Linked DNA regions of Homo sapiens: all the other regions are linked to region 3. Evidence: promoter capture Hi-C in 16 types of primary human blood cells and fetal thymus (Javierre and others, 2016). All regions are on one chromosome and are shown on one strand. Each heading gives the region's core, a stretch centred on a gene start or on the middle of the fragment in contact. The rest is flanking DNA. Distances are from core to core; before and after follow the strand shown.

Region 1 (2,700 bases), core at 5-2,504, 1.2 Mb after region 3:
AAAAAAATTCTAAAATTACATATTTAAAATCATCTAAAGAAAAGTTTTAAAAGACTTTCAATAATCACCAGTCTTAGAAATACATTAGTAAGTTTTTCAACATACTTGTGTCTTTGAGAAAGTGGGTTGTTATAGAAATTTCAATAGTATTATATACTTTAAAATTATTATAGGAAAATGTAAAGTCCTTGCAATGCACTAATATATTAAAGACTATTATTAAGTAAATCTGCACACAGTATTTATTATAACTCTCGCTAGCAAACATAGTTTAAAAATGAGTTGTTCTTTGGAAATAAATACTCTGAAATACATCCACCAGGACACCAATATTGCCTACTTTATTTTAATCATGAATATCACATAAAAATGTCTACAAAGTATTTAAAATAATGTATTGGATCAAAATATATATGCATACCAATTACTAGCAATAAGATTGTCACCTCTGTGAATGGTCTGCATTAAACAGTCATTTGTATATTCTGTTTGTTTTTTTCTTTGATTTTCACTTCATTGATGACTGGTGTGTTAATAAATTTTGCATTGCTGTAAAGGAATACTGAGGCTGGCTAATTTATAAAGAAAACAGGTTTATTTGGCTCACAGTTCTGCAGACTGTACAACAAGCATAGTGCCAGCATCTGCTTCTGGTGAGGCCTCAAAAAGCTTTTACTGATGGTGCAAGGTGAAGGGGTGACAGGTGTGTCACATGGCAAGAGAAGGAGCAAGAGAGAAGAGGGGGTGTACAGCTCCTTTAAACTATCATCTCTCTCACCATCTAACACAGTGAAAACTTGCTTATTACCAAGGGGATGGCCCCAAGCCATTTAGGGGAAATCTGTTCCCATGACCCAAACACCTCCCACTAGGCCCCACCTTCGATATTGGGGATCAAATCTCCACACCCATGAGATATGGAGGGGACAAATATCCAAACCATATCACTTGGTAAAATTAAAAACATTTTTATATGTTTTTTGACAATATATGTTCCCTTTCTTTCAAATTCCTATTTATGTGTTTTGCTTCCGTATCTCTTGTGAATTTTTGTCTATTTCCAAATTGTAATTTATCATCTTATTTTTTCCACTGGATTATAATTTTGTAATACACCTTTGATAAACAAAAGGTTTTACTCTTAATGTGGCAAACATATAAATAACGTGTCCACTGTTTCGTAAAGAGAAAGAGAAGATTGCCATTATCAAGTCTTGGAAAATGTTGTAAATTGATATTTGATATAGCCATTTGGGAAATCCTTTTGAGAAAATATTTAAAAATTTGATCTTCTAATACCCTAAAGCCCTTAACATCCAAGATGATGTTCAAAATCAACTCTTACACATTTATACTGGGAAACATCTACAAGAATGTGTACAAAAATCCTGTTCAAAATCACAATGTTGTATATCCCCTCAAAAAATATATTACAGCTCTAAAAATTAATTAGCTGGAGCTACACACAAAACATGGATGAATCTTAGCAACATATTATTGAGCGAAAATCATTAGCACAATACGATTTTTAAAGGTTTTAAAGTAAAGATGACCAAGGACAGTCCCTAACTGATGATGCTGAATTTAGGATTTTTTTTACTTTATAATGTTTCAAACCCATCACAATTTCAACATAATGTATGGTATTCAAATAATTACAAAAGATATTCAACACCTTATTTTAAAATAATCTTGGTGTTAGATGATAGGCTAATGTAAATGTTCTGAGAACATATAAGGTAAAATGGGAAAGAGCAAGAATTTACAATTGCAAGTTTTCTAAAGCAAATGCTCTGAGGAAGGAATGTCAGTGGCCTATAGTCAAGATCAAACTTATCTGAAGCTTTCTAAAGCTAAAGCAATATGATATAACTATTATATTAAGATATACATAAGTGCAATAAAAGATGAGAGTTCCATGAACTAATGACAACAATGAATCATAAACCATGGATTATAATTATTATGTAATATATTATATATTACTATTTTATGCACTTGAGATGCACAAAAATACATACAAGAGGATTTTAATATATTTATATAAGTCACTTTACTTATCTATTCAAATTAGATAAAAAAATTGCATTTGTCAAATAACTTATGGGCATTTTTTAAAGTAAAGGAAAAGTTGTGTATAATTGCTAGACTATTAAAAATTTTGAAGGAAATCTGTTATACACCCAACAATGATAGAGGAAAATGCCACTTTATATGTAATTTCATTATAGTTGAAAGAAACCTTTATACATAGACATTGTAGAAACAAATTTGTCGTAAGGATCTGAGTAAGTCACAATTTATAAAATATAACTCCTCATTGATTTTAGCAATATTTATCTCCCCGAGAGTGTTCTTAAATACAGCTATATATATTGTTTTCCTAATAGTCTTTACTTGTGATATCCCTCTTATACACAAATACTCGGCTACCTCCTGAATCTAGGAATGTGCATTTTGTTTAGCACTGATATTTCATCTTTTAATCAGAGACCTACTTGCTCTTCTTTCTGCCCTAATTGCCATCCATTTAGAGGCTAAATATTGTTTGGGTGGAGTGGAGCTGGAGCCCTCCAACAGACATGACAAAGTAGCTTGCAATTTGCTCCAATTTTCAGTCCTTATCAAAATAATCTCCTATAGTAAGGGTAAATGTAAATCACTTTTTGTAAGTTCAGACAAACATGGAATGTCAATCAA
Region 2 (2,700 bases), core at 120-2,619, 1.0 Mb after region 3:
ATTATAATGAATTAATTGTAATCACATTAAAAAGTACTGCTATGATAGACTCCTTAGGAAACATGGAAGCATCATATTATCAACTTCAAAAACAACTGAATCTAGATTTTGTAAAATCATCTTGCATGTATTAAGTTTGCCTTCTGCATATTTTAAGGAGGGCTCTGAGTCTAACAAATAGCGTAAATGTTTATTGGTTACTGTTTGAAAATTTTTCAAGAGACTCTAGAATGATACAACATACGAATATAGTCTATTTCACTAAGGATATTAAGATCAAACAGAAAATTCAATATGACAGTGAAGCATATGAGTTTAGTGTATAGACTTAGTGGGTCTGAAACTTAACAGTGCCACGTACTTTATTTGAGACCCTGAACAAGTTACTTAAATTTACTGTGCCTCAATTTCTACAGATATATATATATATTATACTATATAATATATATTAGGATTACATATATCCTACAGTCAGACATCTTTTCTATGCTCTTATAGTATCTTGCAATTTATTATAATAACAAGAAAAAATATTTTTGTTCATTATATATATTTACCTATACTTTATTGCTCTATGATTGCAGCAGTCATCCTTTTATGTTCATAGCTGTACTTCTTTGCCAAATACATGGCTATTACTTAGTGAGTATTAAGTAGTATCTTCCCATAATTAAAATTATGTATAAATGTATATTTGAATGCAAATTAAACTCTTTTATTAAACTAAATCCTTCCTAGACTGGTGGTCTCTAACACCACAAAAATGTAGTTCCCAGATAAATAACCTAGGCAACTGCCGAGTCAACTGGGCTAGTCAACTAAATACCTAGACCACCTAAACACCCTGGTCAACTGGAAATGCATATATTTCCAAAAGTAGATTAGAAAAAAATGAGAATAATTAATAATGAACTGAACAATACTAGAGTTTGATTTAGAGACAACAATGTGGAGAAGGAAAAGATTTTCACTACCTTGTTCTTGCTAAATATCTCTCACTTTGGAACTGTGATAACTTGGACAATCTCTCTGATTTGTAGTCCCAATCACAGTCTTAGGCTAGCTTTATTGCTACAATTAAGATAATATGCATAAATATGATACATGAGCTATAAAATGCATCTCATTGCCAACATTCTCATCTCAGTTTTAAGCACAGGGCACAGAAACCTAAAGTGAAAACTCCACACTATATATCATATCAAAACATAACAGAGGCAAGTATTACAAAATTAAATTAATATTTTATACTATTGTATAATATAGAAATAGCTACATATGTATTATATACTACCAGGATTTTCACTTGTGAATGATATATTTACCTCATCATTATAATAATGCTTAACCAAGCAACAGATGTTCATTTTGAGGAAGCTATTATTGTAACATAGATTGTTAAGGTTAGCATAGTGACAAAACCACAAACCGCTTACAGCCACGAGTCCTTCTTCTCCCAGTAGCACTATAGTTTAACTTTATCTTTCTTTGACCTAAATTCAATAAAAGGGGGAAAAAGAATCCCTGTGTCTTTAAAATACTGTTAAACCACCACAGTTCAGTAATTTATTTGGCTTTAGCCTTTGCAAGCTAACTGTCTGTAGTTGCAACTTTACAGATTTTATGTATTCAGTTTGAAAAAAAAAAAAAGGCTTTTTTTTCCCCCAAAAGAAGCTAGCTGTTAACAGAAAGAAGAGAAAAACAAGATTTATCTTATCCAGCTCCATCCAAAACAAGGTGCTATGCTTTCTGTGACTTCAATTTGACAAGTAAAGCCCTGGGCAGGCATGTAGTATCACTGCTTGTCACTATAAGGCAACAGACTGGAAAAGACATGAGATAGTGTAGAAATAAGCAAGTGTAGCAGGTAACTAATTAAGATTAGGAGTGCACGCTGGAAGATTTTCTAAATCCAAGACACCCAATCCTTCCATATCTACTGTAATACAAAACATATACAGCTGGCATGCAACAAGCTCATCTTGGAAAATGTATGCTTTTTGCTTTGTAAAATTTAAAGTAAAAATGGTAGATGAAATGAAAATCTGCAAGTGAGGCAAAATCTGTGTTGACTGCCTTTGTTGTAGAAGTTTGTCTCATTCTGAAATAAATCTTGATTTATTCCAAATTAGGAGATTTAAGTATTTCAATTTCCAATTTAAAAATAATTCCTTCTCTTTGTCTCTGGCAGTATATAATATGTATGTGTATAAACATATATTCACCTTAAAATTTAATATGTGAATACCAAAATATTACATAGAATTATGTGTAGTCTTGTTTCGCCACTGTTCATTTTTTCTCATATTTAACTCTCATGAAAATTTCCCTCATTTTTTTGAGTGTTGTTTCTATCATTTTATTTCAGTCATTTCATTCTTTATTTTCTTCTATTTTTCCTTTGCTCTACAGTCATTTGGGGCATTGTTTTCTGTATCAAGATCTTTTTACACAGACTATATTGCATGGGAAGGCGGCATGCAAGAGTAATGATATGCAAGGTGATTTTTAAAATAAAATATGACAACTGTTGAAAAAGCATGTTTTATCTATTTCTCATTGTATTTTCTCTTTTTTGATACTGTATAGAATCATTAGGATAAACCAGTTGGCAATATACTCAGAATGAAGAAAACAGTGCAATCCCTGTCTTCCAGGAAATTATAACAGGTTAGGAAAAAGTCACAAAGTGCTTCACCG
Region 3 (2,700 bases), core at 112-2,611:
TTTTACATAAAATGTAAGCTATTTAAAATAGTTAATTTTTAAAGCCACTATTGATGTCCCTTTGTTTAAAGTTCTATTCATGGTCACTATAATAACACGAGGCTCTATTGTGGGGTTATGCATAAACTCACACTACCTTATGTGATCTTATGTTAATGCTTTCCTTTTAGTATCTTCTTGTAGCTTGGTAATATTTAAAATTTGTTGATACTCTCTTTGGTTGTGTTCATTATCTTCATTTAGGGAGATGTTGGGGAAGATTTTGTTACTAAAAGCTGTTACATATTAAGGTTTTGTTTTAAAAGGACTTTGAAAAAAAAACTCTTAAGGTTTTCCTTGCTACTATTTAATGAAATTTCACTGCATTGTGTCTTTTGATAGCCATTTTTAAGAGAGCATTTAATTTACTAGATAAGGATTCAGTTTGACCTAATTTGATAGAATATTGCTGTGTTTTTTGTAAAGGGCTACAGATTTTTTTTTAAGTTTAATTTCTTAAGGAATCCTTTAAACACATCTTCTTCTTATTTGCCTTTTCCCTCTGATGTCTATTACCCAGAATTACTCCAAGCTACATATTTAGCTGCATAAAGCAGTGACAGCTTGTCTTCTAAACAATGACAAATTTTAAAATCAGATATTAAGAAACCTTTTCATAGTTTCAAGGGCAGTGAGCTGTATGAACTTGCTTATCAGGTATTAGTGCCTCCAGGGCTATAAAAAGGTAACACATTTAAATGACTATCATACACAAGATATTGACATACCTTCCTTGGTCAGGCCATTTATGTGAAGAGGATTATGCCCACTGAAAATACTTTTGGCACGCCATCACTTCAGCAAAAAAGATGCTATCGAACATGCGCACATCCCCCAACAGTCTGCCTCCTGCGATTGCTTTTCACAGTATCCAAAGTGTCCATCTGTCTGCTTGTCTTCGAGTTACCCTCCTTGTTCATATGGGTCCTAGTCTTCTGAAATTTTCCCTTTCTTTCATTTTCTCTCTTTCGTTAAACAAAAGAGCTGTAGTTGCCCGTTCTGCTTGTAGCACTGTTGACTCTTCCCGACAGTTGATGCATTGAAGCTTTTTACATCTGCTATTTTCCTGGCTGGACAATGCAGTGCTGTGTTCTCGTCTCAGTATCCATATTTCTACTAATAACACTGAGCTGCAATGTAAAGCAGCCAGAGCTAAAATGTAGTGCTTCAGTTGTATTGGAAAAGAATAGGATTTACCTCTCTTCTTTCGTTGTTGCCTGGCAGCTGCAGGAAGGATTTTGAGCAGTTTTAATGGGGTTTTAGTCTATAATATGAAATCCACGGTTCCTCAGCTGCTGCACAGGCAGGCAGCAGTTTAAATGTGGGCTTGACAGATGCTCTCTCTGACAGAGCAGAATTTAACGTCACTGCTTGGCTGAATCCCACGTGATTGTTTGCATTCATTTTGACTAAAAACCTAAGGTAGGGAGAAGCTTAGAGATTTTGCTTTTATGTGATAAATTATATATGTTGAATGCAAGTGTAGTGATGAGTGAATAATTTGAAAATGTGATGATTATGAAATGGTTATGATTTTATTTTTTCCAGCTTACTTCCTTTTTTAACTTTATTCTTAAGTACAGGCTTTCTAAGTGTTTTCTGTGTTAGATGTTGGTTTTCATGTTTCTTACATGCTTTTGTAGGGTGTAAGCAGTATAAGCTTTTGTGTGTAAGTTGGTGTAATTTAACCCCTTCAGTGCATTCTCTTCTTGAAGTTTTTTTTCTCTGCTTTCAAATTGCTCTTGATTTTTTACTAATATGTAGTTAAGACCTATGGTTTCTATTGAAACCATGTATCTTTGTAATTTAGATCCCCCCCCCCGTTTTCTGGGGTTTGTATAAATAAGCTGTCTTGGATTACTTTACTAATGCATGATGTGATACAGCCCACTTCTTTTTTGCTCTTATGTGGTTTTTGGTGTTCTTGATGGCAGAAAACTTTATTTTAAATCACTTTTTAATGTTGTCATTTATTTTTTATTTATTTTTCCTTCCCTTTAAAATTACATGTATCGTAGAATTCAGTAAAATGATGTAATAGATATAGCACACTTGTACAGGATCTGGGGGTAATGAGATTTTACTAATTATGTTTACTTATTCTAATGTTTCAGAAAGATTTAATAACTTGCCATGAGGCAGATTTTATTAACACTACACACTCACTGAGATTTTTCTAATATGGTTAGTTTCTGGGGCTGGCACCTTCTTTTCTTACTGCAGAGCAGTAGGGAAGGTTTTTTTAAATTTTTTGTTGTAGTAAAAAGCCTTTATTATCAGTTTTTCCTCTGTGACTCTAGGGACAGTAATTCAGTCCTAGAAAGTTATAGTTTTGGAGCTTAAGCTAAAGGTTAACAGTTATATACATATTCTTCATCTCACTGCCTCCACCATTAATATATGCTATTTCAAATGAATATGAATTTGTTTTCTCTGATATTAAAAAAAATTTTGTCCACATATTTTTGAGCTTTGCTGATGAAATGTGCTTTGTAGTTTTAAGAACCCCACTGTATTAGAAATGTTAGAAGGATCGTTAAAGAAAAAAAAGAATTTTATAAATAGGAAACCTAAAGCCTAGACTGAGCTTTGACTTTTCCTAGTTAAGTTTGAAGGAGAGGACTAAAACCCAACTTCCTTGTAGTCTATATCCACCCATAC
Region 4 (2,700 bases), core at 17-2,516, 1.0 Mb after region 3:
CGGAAAACAAGGACAACATTATTGTCTCGTGATTCTATGAGTCAGCAATTTGAGCTGGACTCAATTGGATGTTTCTACTGTTGCGCTCTACAAGAGGCTCTCACATAGCTGCAGTCATGTGGTGGCTTATTTGAAGCTCGATGGCCTGAGGTGGCCACACTTCCATAGTAGGTGGTTAATGTTAGATGTTATCTGAGTAAAATGTCTACAGCTTATTAGCCTGGACTTCTTCACCTGTTGGAAATGTTTTTAGGGCATAAGTAAGTCCCAATGCAAAAAGAGTTTTTTAATATCTATTTTTGTATTACATTTGATTTTGTTCTATTGGACAAAGCTAGTCACATGGTCAAACTCAGGTTCAATGGGGAGGTGACTAGGCAGGACATACATCGATAGATACAGAAAGGGTCATTGGGGCCACTACTCTGACAGCTTTCAGAGTCTGGGAATAAATAGGAATACCCTTTAATGGTAAGATGATGAGTTGAAAATGCTATGGCTCCTAGTGACACCATATAAAATTTCTGGTACCATGCCTGGATTTGTTATTTGTGTCTTTCAATGCAAACTGGACCATCTGATTACCCTCAAGGAGGTCACCTTTGTTACAAATTATTTTTTTCTAGACCACCACCAAATCTGATCTAATTTTTATCCTGATTTCCTATGGGTTTGCATTACTGAGGTCCAGCAATTATATCATTTGATTCCGTGTGAATTTCTAGAGGTACTCTCATTCTTTTGTAGAACACTTTATTCCAAGGATGTCCTGATGTAACTTTCTTCTGTTCCCTCAGGTGCAGAGTGCTTTTTCCACCAAAGAAGAGACATTGTACTCTTTTTGGGGTTATATTAATGACTGTGAGTATCTTCCCCAAAATAATTTATATTCTCTTTAGAAAGAAAGATTTCTGAGCAACTTCATATGATAATAAACCTAATTTAACTTTAAGAATCATATTTTCGAATAAGTAGGCTTGAAAGTATCCTTTCCTATTTCTGCCATGATTTCCTAATAAAAATTCTGAGCTACTGACCTACTTATAAGAATTAACTTGTAACATAAATCAGTCCAATCAATTCATGTCCTCAGTGTATCTCAAACTAAGTCAGAATAAAGGAGCCACTTTTGTCTTTAGTAATGTAGATATTAGAAAATAATCCTTGAAATTCCACTAGTCATATCATCTTCTCCACACTGAGTGATGATGAGAGTTTGAGCACACAGAAAAATAATGAAGATAATATAGAGGAAAGAAAATTCTAATGACTTTGGAGTCATTTGTTCTGTTCAATTCCAGGGGTTACTATTTATTTTTTTCTAGATACATTTTCTAATAATTACACTTTTATATATTTGGAAATGTATTTTTCTCTGTTACTTGCAAAGAACATTGTTCTTGATTAATATAAAAGCCCAATAAAATCATTAATTCCAGGGATAAAGAACTCCACTAGAGAGATTATAGCAAGAAAAGTTTAATTATAATTATATATTACCTAAAACTAATGACATTTTTATGGTATATAAAAGGTTTATGTTTTCACATTGTATGTTCATTCTCATTTCATACCCTTTTTGCAGAATTCACCTCTCTGTCCTCCTCAATGCCATCTGTCTTTTGTTTGGTCTCCCTGATGTTAGTCACGAAGTCTGCTTAGAAGGATTTATGTCTTACTTTGATATAGGTTCTATACTCAATGCTAGGGAACAATCATTGGCAAGATGTGTCTCCTTTACTCAAAGAGGTTTTAATGGTCTATGTTTGGAAAAGAGACATACAGTCATTAGAATGCAATATTGTGAAAGTTGACAAGGGAAATTCTTGGGGTTATGGGAATCTTCAATATCTTTATTGAGAAATACAGATATACACATTTATCAAAACTCATAAAATGATGAATTTGTAGTATTTTATTGTGTATAAATTATGCCTCAATAAAAGTTCATTGTAATGTGCTGAAAGAATAAATGATAAAGAAGCATATGTTTGCTGATGACAGTTTTGCACCAATTCCTTTTTATTTTTACTTTTCCTCCCTTTAGGTTTCTTACTATGGCCTTCAATAAATTGTAACTCCAGGCTTAAATTTGATCAAATATTCTTCTAGTGGGTCATGAGGCTATTGAGTGTCACAACAAAAGATTTCCATTTAATTTTGTAATATGCCTGATAATAAGGAAAAAATATATTAAAAATGAAAACTAGGAAAAGATGTAAAGTCAGTGAGTAATTTTGGGAGATAATACAGGAAATAATTGATAAATAGTAAATTGAGACTGAGGAAATAAGAGTCAGAAAAACTATACAGGTTAAACTTCATTCTATAAGTGTTTAAACTTTAGCTTAGGCAGTCTGCATTTTTGTTTTTCATCTATTTTACAGATAATCCTTTGAAAATTTATCATGATCTTTCCTTTAATAAAATAAGTAGAACTCAGAATAAAATAAAGTAACCCCAAGTTAAAACTACAGCAATTTAACCACCATCTGGAAAAGTGACCCTGTCTATGACCTCCACAGTTACACTTTACTATGCTCCATGCTCTTTGATGTGGAGCTAGAACCTCACACCAAGAAGTGATTTATATGCAGAAAAAATGATATCCACACATCTCTAGGGAACCATATTCATTTATTAATTCACTGTGCATGTTTCTTTAATAAGAAGTTCAATAAAATAAGTGTACAATACTTA
Region 5 (2,700 bases), core at 65-2,564, 1.1 Mb after region 3:
CAGATCACAAGGTCAGGAGATCTAGACCATCCTGGCTAACACGGTGAAACCCCGTCTCTACTAAAAATACAAAAAATTAGCCAGGCGCCTATAGTCCCAGCTACTTGGGAGGCTGAGGCAGGAGAATGGTGTGAACCCAGGAGGCGGAGCTTGCAGTGAGCCGAGATAGCGCCACTGCACTCGGGCCTGGGCAAAAGGGCGAGACTCCGTCTCAAAAAAAAAAAAAAAAAAAAAAAAAAATTACATGTCATAGCAATGGGCAAAAATAAATGGTGGTGCTAATTATGGTGATCATGATGATAATAACAAAGATTAGAAAAGAAACAAAGAAATAGTTTCAGAGGAGTAATAGGTTATGAGGATTTGAGACCTAAATTATAATATGAGATTAATTAATATTTTCAACCAAATAAAGATGAATTGGAATTTTTCGTCAGAGAACTGAACTTTATAAAATGAGTTATGAGAAAATTAAAAGAATAGAAAATATGCTATATGTAAAATTAAGAATTAAAGGGCTGTACTGAAAAACACATGAGAAACAGCAAAAGACAAGATTGGAGATCTGAACAGTAAAACAAATGAAAATATTTAGAGAGAATACAGAAAGAACAGAGATACCATGAATAGGTCTAATATATGTGCAAATGCAGTCCCATTAGAAATGAAAAAAAATTAGACAGGATAATTATTTGAATAAGTAATAGCTAACGATTTCCAAAAACTGATTACTGATATGAAGTCACAGATTTATGGAGATATATATAGATATATATATATAAAGTCAGGCCTTCCATAAATATATATACACGCAAAAACTATATATGATATATATATCAATATCATATAGATATTATATATCTATATATAATATAAACATATAATCTATAGTATATAATAACACATAACACATTATAGTAAAGTATCTAAAATGTTGAATAGAAAGAGAAAATTTATAACCACCATCTGATTCAATGCTATTCCTATCAAACTACCAATGATGTTTTCATAGAATTAGAAGAAACTATTCTAAAATTCGTATGGAACCAAAAAAAAAAAAAAAAGCCTGAATAGCCAAAGCAATCGTATGCAAACAGTACAAAGCCAGAGGCATCACACTACCCAACTTCAAGCTATACAACAAGGCTACAGTAATCAAAACAGCATAGTACTGGTACAAAAATAGACACATAGACAAATGGATCATGGTGGAGAGCCTAGAAATAAAGCCACACACCTACAACCATCTGATATTTGACAGAAACAAGCAACAGGGAAAGGAATCGCTAGTCAATAAATAGTGCTTGCATAACTTTCTAGCCATAAGCAAAAGATTGAAACTGGACCTTTTCCTTTTATCATAAACTAAAATCAATTCGAAATGGATTAGAGATTTAAATGTAAAAGCCAGAACTATAAAAACCTGGAAATAACTAGGAAATACCATTCTGGAAATAGGCACTGGGAAATATTTTGTTATAAAGACTCCAAAAGCAATTGCAACAAAAACAAAAATTAACAAGTGGGACTTAATTAAACTGAAGAGCTTCTGCACAGCAAAGGAAACTTTTAACAGAGTAAAGAGATGACCTATGAAATGGAAGAAAATATTTGCAAACTATGCATCTGACAAGGGCCTACTATCCAGAATCCATAAAGAACTTAAACAATTTAACAATAAAAAAAAACCATTAAAAAATGGGCAAAAAATGTGAATGGACACTTCTCAAGAGAAGACATACACGTAGCCAGCACGCATGTAAAAAAAAAAAAATGTTCAATATCACTAATCACTAGAGAAATGCAAATCAAAACCACAATGAGATACCATCTCACACCAGTCAGAATGGCTATTATTAAAAAGTCAAAAATTAACAGATGTTGGCAAGGTTTTGGAGAAAAGGTAATGCTTATACAGCGCTGGTGAGAATGTAAATTAGTTCAGTCACCGTGGAAAGCATTTTCGAGGTTTCTCAAAGAACTTAAAACAGAACTACCATCCAACCGAGCAATCCCATTTCTGGGTATATACCCAGAGGAATAGAAATCATTCTACCATAAAGACATATGAATGTGTGTATTCATCATGGCACTATTCGCAATAACAAAGACATGGAATCAACCTAGATGCCCATCAACAGTGGACTGGATGAAGAAAATATGAAACACAGGAATAGAAAACCAAATGTCACATGTTCTTACTTATAATTGGAGGTAAACATTGAACACATTTGAACACAAAGAAGGGAACAATAGACACCAGGCCCTTCTTGAAGGTGGAGGGTGGGAGAAGGGAGACATCAAAAAACTACCTACAGGGTACTATGCTCATTAACTGGGTGACCAAATAATCTGTACACCAAACCCCCACAACACACAATTTATCTATGTGACAAACCTGCCCATGTACCCTCTGCACCTACAATAAAGGTTGGAAAGAAAAATTTTTTAAATAAAAATAAAACCACTGTAGTAATTCGTTGTGACTGCCATAACAAAACACATAGACTGGGTAGCTCAACAACAGAAATTTATGTTCTCAGTTCTTGTGGGTAAGGAAATCCGAGACAAAGGTGCTGGACAATTTGGGTCCTGGTAAGAACTCTTTTCCTGGCTTCCAGGTGGCTGCCTTTTTGCCTTATATGACAGAGACAGAGAGTGAGAGAAAGAGAGAACAAGAAAGAGAAAGGAGAGAGTGAG
Region 6 (2,700 bases), core at 180-2,679, 1.1 Mb after region 3:
TCTCCTGATAACCAGACCCAGATAGCTCCCTTAGCAAAGGTAGTACATTTTATATTCCCACCAGCCTCCTCATACTTGAAGGAGGAGATTTGTTTCATTGGATCTACGTAACACCTTGACTGACACAATCTCAGGGCAACATCATTGAACGATAGCCAAAATATACTTCATTAGGCCCAGGAGGCTACCACCAGGATGATCAGGCCTGCCTGTAGCTGCAATCTAGCCCAAGGTCCTAGTGATATAAGTAAGATTTCTAAGGAGGTCAAAGAAGGATCCTTCAGCTAGCCCCACTGTCTGCAACTCGTGGACATACTTCCAGATCTCCTTTGTTTGTATTTCTATAATCACTGAGGTGTTTATCCAGATACAGCAGGAGGTGTTGGCAATTGCACACACTACCCCAAATTAGGCAAAAAGAAAACCTAGAGCAATTATGTTGTCTAAAACAACTTTCCCAAGGGAGTTAGGTAATGTCTACCAGCTACCACAGCAGTGGCTGTTGAGGAAACAATATCTGTGTTGGTCAGGAAGAGGTTTCTTATTAATTTTTTATGAGCACTGACTCCCATATACGGTACCAAAGATTACATAAGGAACATAAATTCAGACTCAGTTATACCTCCTGGCAGGTCCCTAGTAAGACTAGTGCATAACTTTAGGTTTCTGGTCCATTGGTGCCTCTACTGCCATGTTTTCATGAAAAAAGCAGGACAGGTTATTGTCCCACCTTCAACCCCTCCATGGGTCTTAGATGTCCCCTATCTGTGTAAAAGTATCAAGATCATATCAAGTATCTTTTCTGAGCAAAATAGAATGAAACTAGAAACCAACAGCAGTAATTAACTAGAAAATTCGACAACTAACAAACACTCTTGAACAACCATTGTGTTAAAGAGGAAACGGAAAGGAATTATTTTTCAATCTTAAAATAAATAAAAACAAAAACATAACATACCAAAACATATGGGACACTGCAAAAGCAGAACTTCAAGAAAATTATATAGTGAAAAATACATATTAAAAAAGAAGAAAGAGTTCAAATAAACAAACTGACATTACAAGTTAAGGAAATATAGAGAAGAACAAACTTACTCCAAAGTTAGCATAAGAAAGAAAATTGAAAATATTAGAGCAAAAAATCATTAAAACAGAGAATAGAAAAACAATACAAAAAAACCCAACAAAATTAAAAGTTGGTGTTTTGAAAGGTTAATTGGCAAACTCTTTGTTAGACTACCTACAAAAAAAAAAAAATGTAAAGTGACGGAAAAGGAGAAATAGAAGACTCAAAATCAGAAATGGAAGAGGAGATATTTCAATGCATTCCTCAAAAATAAAAGGATTATAAGGAATTATTATGAATAACTATATGTCAACAAATAGGATAACCTAGAATAAATTGATAAATTCCTAGAAACATACACTCTAGCAAGGCTGAATCAAGAAGAAATAGAGGCCAGGCATGGTGGCTCATGCCTGTAATCCCAGCACTTTGGGAGGCCGACGCAGGTGGATCACCAGATCAGGAGATTGAGACCATCCTGGCTAACATGGTGAAACCCCGTCTCTACTAAAAATACAAAACATTAGCCAGGCGTGGTGGTGGGTGCCTGTAGTCCCAGCTACTCGGGAGGCTGAGGCAGGAGAATGGCATGAACCTGGGAGGCGGAGCTTGCAGTGAGCCGAGAACTCGCCACTGCACTCCAGCCTGGGTGACAGATCAAGACTCCATCTCAAATAAACAAACAAACAAACAAATAAATAAATAAATAAATAAATAAATAAATAAGAAATAGAGATCCTGAACAGACCAATAAGAAATAAGCCATTTGGATCAGTAATCCAAAACCTCTCAACAAAGAAAGGCCCAGGACCAGATAGCTTCACTGCTAAATTCTATCAAACATTCAAGAATACCAATACTGTGATGGCTGATACTGTCAACTTGATTGGATTGAAGGATGCAAATTATTGATCCTGGGTATGTCTGTGAGGATGTTGCCAAAGGAGATTAACATTTGAGTCAGTGGGCTGGGAAAGGCAGACCCACCCTTAATCTGGGTGGGCACCATCTGATCAGCTGCCCGTGCAGCCAGGACATAAAGCAAGCGGAAAAACGTGAAAAGGCTAGACTGGCTTAGCTTCTCAGCCTACATCTTTATCCTGTGCTGAATGCTTCCTGCTCTTGAATATCAGACTACAGGTCTTCAGCTTTGGGATTCAGACTGGCTTTCTTTCTCCTTAGCTTGCAAATGGTCTATTGTGGGACCTTGTGATTGTGTGAGTTACTACTACTTAATAAGCTCCCCTTAATAAGTTCCCGTATATATATATCATTAGTTCTGTCACTCTAGATACCACAGATTAAATACTTTTTAAACTCTCCCCAAAAAACAGAACAAAAGGAATACATCCAAACTCTATGAGTCTAGCATCACCCCAATACCAAGGCCAAAGATACCACAAGAATGTAAAATGACAGGTCAATATCCCTGATGAACATACATGCATAAATACATAATAAAATACTTGCAAGTCAAATTCAATAGCATACTAAAAGGCTTATATACCATGACCAACTGGAATTTATCACTGCAATGCAACGGTGGCTCGGTATATACATATCAATCAATGTGATATACTACATTAGCAGAACGAAAGACAAAAGCTATGTGATCATCTCAAAAGATGGAGAAA
Region 7 (2,705 bases), core at 106-2,605, 1.1 Mb after region 3:
TGACATTCTAAGTTGTGAGAATATATATATGATCATATATATATATGAACAAGTTATCAATATAAAATATCTCATCCTTTCATGTAATATTTATTACTTTTTAAAAATACTTCCTAAAGTATTATAATTCGGATAATTCTGCAAATGAGTTTTCCTGGGACAGTACTGCTTTATATACCCATTCCCATGAATAGTGTTCTGTTCATTTTCAGCCTTGTCATCCCAATTTGGATAATAATCTATGTGGTCCCCAAGTTATAATGCAGAGTAGAGATGTGCCAAGTCAAGTAGAAAAAAAACAAGTTAACTATGACCAATGGTCACCAAAAACTATTAATTTTATATATTTTATAGTTTGGGTTACTTATAATTCATTGAAAGGAACAGTCGTGGGATATAATGATAAGCTAATATGTGAAGCTCATTGAAGGAAAAAGCAGTTGCCCAGAGGAACTAGATAAAGCACAGTACTTTTGACACATATGAGATCAGACTCAAAAATGTCTTACCAACATATCCTTGCGGTGACTGATGCTACCATATTAGCAACTGGGCAAGGATTCTTCAAACTGAGAGAAGGAAATGCCAACTAGGATTATTTCATCTTTCTCCCATTAGTGTTTAAACTTAGAACCCTACTTTCATCCAGAAGTTGGTCTACCCTGTCTTACTCTGGTTCTTTACTGTCAGCAATGACAGAATGCAGGCAGTTCCAAATGCAACATGGTAAAACATATCAGATATTATGCACCAGAAATGTATAGAAATCATCATCAGCAAATGCCTCAAGGATCACAGTTCAATTAGAAACTAAAGGAGTGTGACTATCAAAAGAAGTGTTCCCATAGAAAGAATGGCTCTCTGAATTGTACACATGTGTATATATTTTGCACTAGCAACATAAATTTGCCTTTTACATCTCAATTGACTTTTTAAAAATAAATGGATAAATATATTTTCTGTATTTGTACACACCCATTTTAAAACCAATTTACATAAGATATTATGTTCAATGATTCATAAAATGCTGATACATACCATTTGTTTATGCATTTATAGTGATATTGATTGTATTGCTTTGCATTTATCAATTATTGATAATTCATTCTTATATTTATGAAAATTTTATATTCAATTGTAAAGTCAACTATTAAAACAGCTTCATTCAAAATATTGTTTTGTTAGTGAGTATTTAGGAAGAAATATATTGCATGGCCTTTATTTCCTAGTACCTTAATTAAATAGATACGTTTCAATTAAGGTAATGCGACACTTAATTACTGCACGTGTCATAAAAGCTATGTAGAAAATAACAAGTAGATTTCTTAGTTTAAATGCCATTCCTTATTTTATAAACCATATATGACCTTTTATGTTTTCTCCTTTCTGATAACCATGGAAATATGTTAAAACAAAACAGAAATAGAATCCTGACAAGAAAAAAACAATTATCCAATGGAAGAATATGCCAATTGCTCACCTTCTGAATTTAATTTTGTGAACACTCGGTATTATACTGCTCTCAGTGTGACTTTAGGTGCTTGTGAAGAGCCAATAAAAATGTTATATTGTAAGCCATTGAGACTGAAACTCTAATCTGATTATACTGTCTACAGATCTTTAAAAGTTAGTATGAAAGACATCCAAATCTAATAAAATGTAATCTAAGCAGGAATTATTGAGTTTCCCAAATCCATTAAGAAACTAATGGTCATGGATTGTGAACTAAGGCAAATTTAGTAATCTAATGTTGCTTTTAAAATGAGCTAGTTTAGTGCTATCTTCAAAGATATCTCTTTAGATGTTAACTAAAAAAGCTACAATAGTAAGCATCATTACATTGAAAGAGTACTACAAGATTACTAAATCTTGGATCTTTGATTTAAAAAGAGACAATTGTAAACATACAGAGGCTGTCCTCAATGACACACACAAGACTAACTACAGTGGAACAGACTGCGTATTTGGTGTGAACCCACAAAGGAGGGTAAGACAAAAACAAAGAATGTCAAATTTCCATAAATACCCATAAAGTATATTATTAAATTGAACACTATTGGGCAGCATCTTAAATCGTGACAATGCTGAAGTCTCATTTTTGCATCTTTGTCATGAGGAAGTGGTAGTGAAGATGAAAGTTTTTTTGTGGATATCTAACCAACAACATGTATTGATTACAGTTGTAGGCTGAAAAGCAAGAAGTTAAGCCTAATTATTCAAATTACTGTAAGAGGATGGCAGTATAACTCAATAGGGAGAAGAAAAGTCGCAGTATGAAGCAGCTGGTGCTCATTTTTTTTAACTAATGGTATGATTGTCAGAGTGTGAAATAACTGAAAACAATGAAAACAGCTTGAAAAGTGTGCATGTTTGTATGTTCAAGTGTAACATATGGAAACAGCAAAAAGTAATTATAAGAGATTCTGGTATTAGTGGGAATTGTTGTTGTAAGGTTTGCTTTCATAGCAAGTTAACTATGTAGTGTTTTAAAAACTGATGAAAGCATGTTATTTTCCTTCAACTACACATCAAATTTGATGCTAGGTAGAACACAGTTGTCTGACATAAAAATCAGTCATATAGATCATGGGTACATAGTTATGTCTATTATGCATATGTTACATAGGAGCAGGATTGCTCCCTGCCCCCAACTCCTCCCTGACTTTACAGTGTGAAATATACACATCAGAATTTGCTTATTGGTT

Evidence for each region. The method cuts DNA at HindIII sites, captures the fragments that hold promoters and counts their contacts. A CHiCAGO score of 5 or more calls a contact.
Region 1: a contact is called between a fragment that was not itself captured here and the fragment with the promoter of B3GALT2 in region 3, in 2 of 17 cell types (total CD4 T cells and total B cells). The highest score is 6.1, in total CD4 T cells.
Region 2: a contact is called between a fragment that was not itself captured here and the fragment with the promoter of B3GALT2 in region 3, in 2 of 17 cell types (naive CD8 T cells and naive CD4 T cells). The highest score is 6.0, in naive CD8 T cells.
Region 4: a fragment that was not itself captured here is called in contact with the fragment with the promoter of B3GALT2 in region 3 in 5 of 17 cell types (naive CD4 T cells, naive B cells, total CD8 T cells and 2 more); the score reaches 7.0 in naive CD4 T cells.
Region 5: a contact is called between a fragment that was not itself captured here and the fragment with the promoter of B3GALT2 in region 3, in 10 of 17 cell types (total CD4 T cells, naive CD8 T cells, naive CD4 T cells and 7 more). The highest score is 24.2, in total CD4 T cells.
Region 6: a contact is called between a fragment that was not itself captured here and the fragment with the promoter of B3GALT2 in region 3, in 8 of 17 cell types (naive CD4 T cells, total CD4 T cells, total CD8 T cells and 5 more). The highest score is 10.8, in naive CD4 T cells.
Region 7: a contact is called between a fragment that was not itself captured here and the fragment with the promoter of B3GALT2 in region 3, in 9 of 17 cell types (naive CD8 T cells, naive CD4 T cells, naive B cells and 6 more). The highest score is 14.2, in naive CD8 T cells.

What each region holds. Positions count from the first base shown.
Region 1 is chr1:194,335,744-194,338,443 of GRCh38, forward strand. All of the region lies in intron 2 of LOC107985242 (a long non-coding RNA gene), which reads right to left. Among named protein-coding and RNA genes, the nearest start is that of LINC01031, 1.0 Mb to the left of the region's middle. RefSeq lists a silencer at 2,663-2,700. The HindIII fragment of the contact is 1,174 bases long and covers 668-1,841 here.
Region 2 is chr1:194,224,578-194,227,277 of GRCh38, forward strand. The region is part of intron 2 of LOC107985242 (a long non-coding RNA gene); the gene reads right to left. Among named protein-coding and RNA genes, the nearest start is that of LINC01031, 920 kb to the left of the region's middle. The HindIII fragment of the contact is 8,029 bases long and covers 1-2,700 here.
Region 3 is chr1:193,185,252-193,187,951 of GRCh38, forward strand. B3GALT2 (beta-1,3-galactosyltransferase 2) reads right to left here and starts at 1,362. Exons shown (of 2, transcript NM_003783.3): 1 at 768-1,362. All of the region lies in intron 10 of CDC73 (cell division cycle 73), which reads left to right. The HindIII fragment of the contact is 388 bases long and covers 1,083-1,470 here.
Region 4 is chr1:194,196,726-194,199,425 of GRCh38, forward strand. LOC124904475 (a long non-coding RNA gene) reads left to right here. Exons shown (of 9, transcript XR_007066777.1): 8 at 798-861. The region is part of intron 2 of LOC107985242 (a long non-coding RNA gene); the gene reads right to left. Among named protein-coding and RNA genes, the nearest start is that of LINC01031, 890 kb to the left of the region's middle. The HindIII fragment of the contact is 3,468 bases long and covers 1-2,700 here.
Region 5 is chr1:194,276,259-194,278,958 of GRCh38, forward strand. The region is part of intron 2 of LOC107985242 (a long non-coding RNA gene); the gene reads right to left. Among named protein-coding and RNA genes, the nearest start is that of LINC01031, 970 kb to the left of the region's middle. The HindIII fragment of the contact is 3,038 bases long and covers 1-2,700 here.
Region 6 is chr1:194,246,952-194,249,651 of GRCh38, forward strand. All of the region lies in intron 2 of LOC107985242 (a long non-coding RNA gene), which reads right to left. Among named protein-coding and RNA genes, the nearest start is that of LINC01031, 940 kb to the left of the region's middle. The HindIII fragment of the contact is 5,601 bases long and covers 1-2,700 here.
Region 7 is chr1:194,317,329-194,320,033 of GRCh38, forward strand. The region is part of intron 2 of LOC107985242 (a long non-coding RNA gene); the gene reads right to left. Among named protein-coding and RNA genes, the nearest start is that of LINC01031, 1.0 Mb to the left of the region's middle. The HindIII fragment of the contact is 2,830 bases long and covers 1-2,705 here.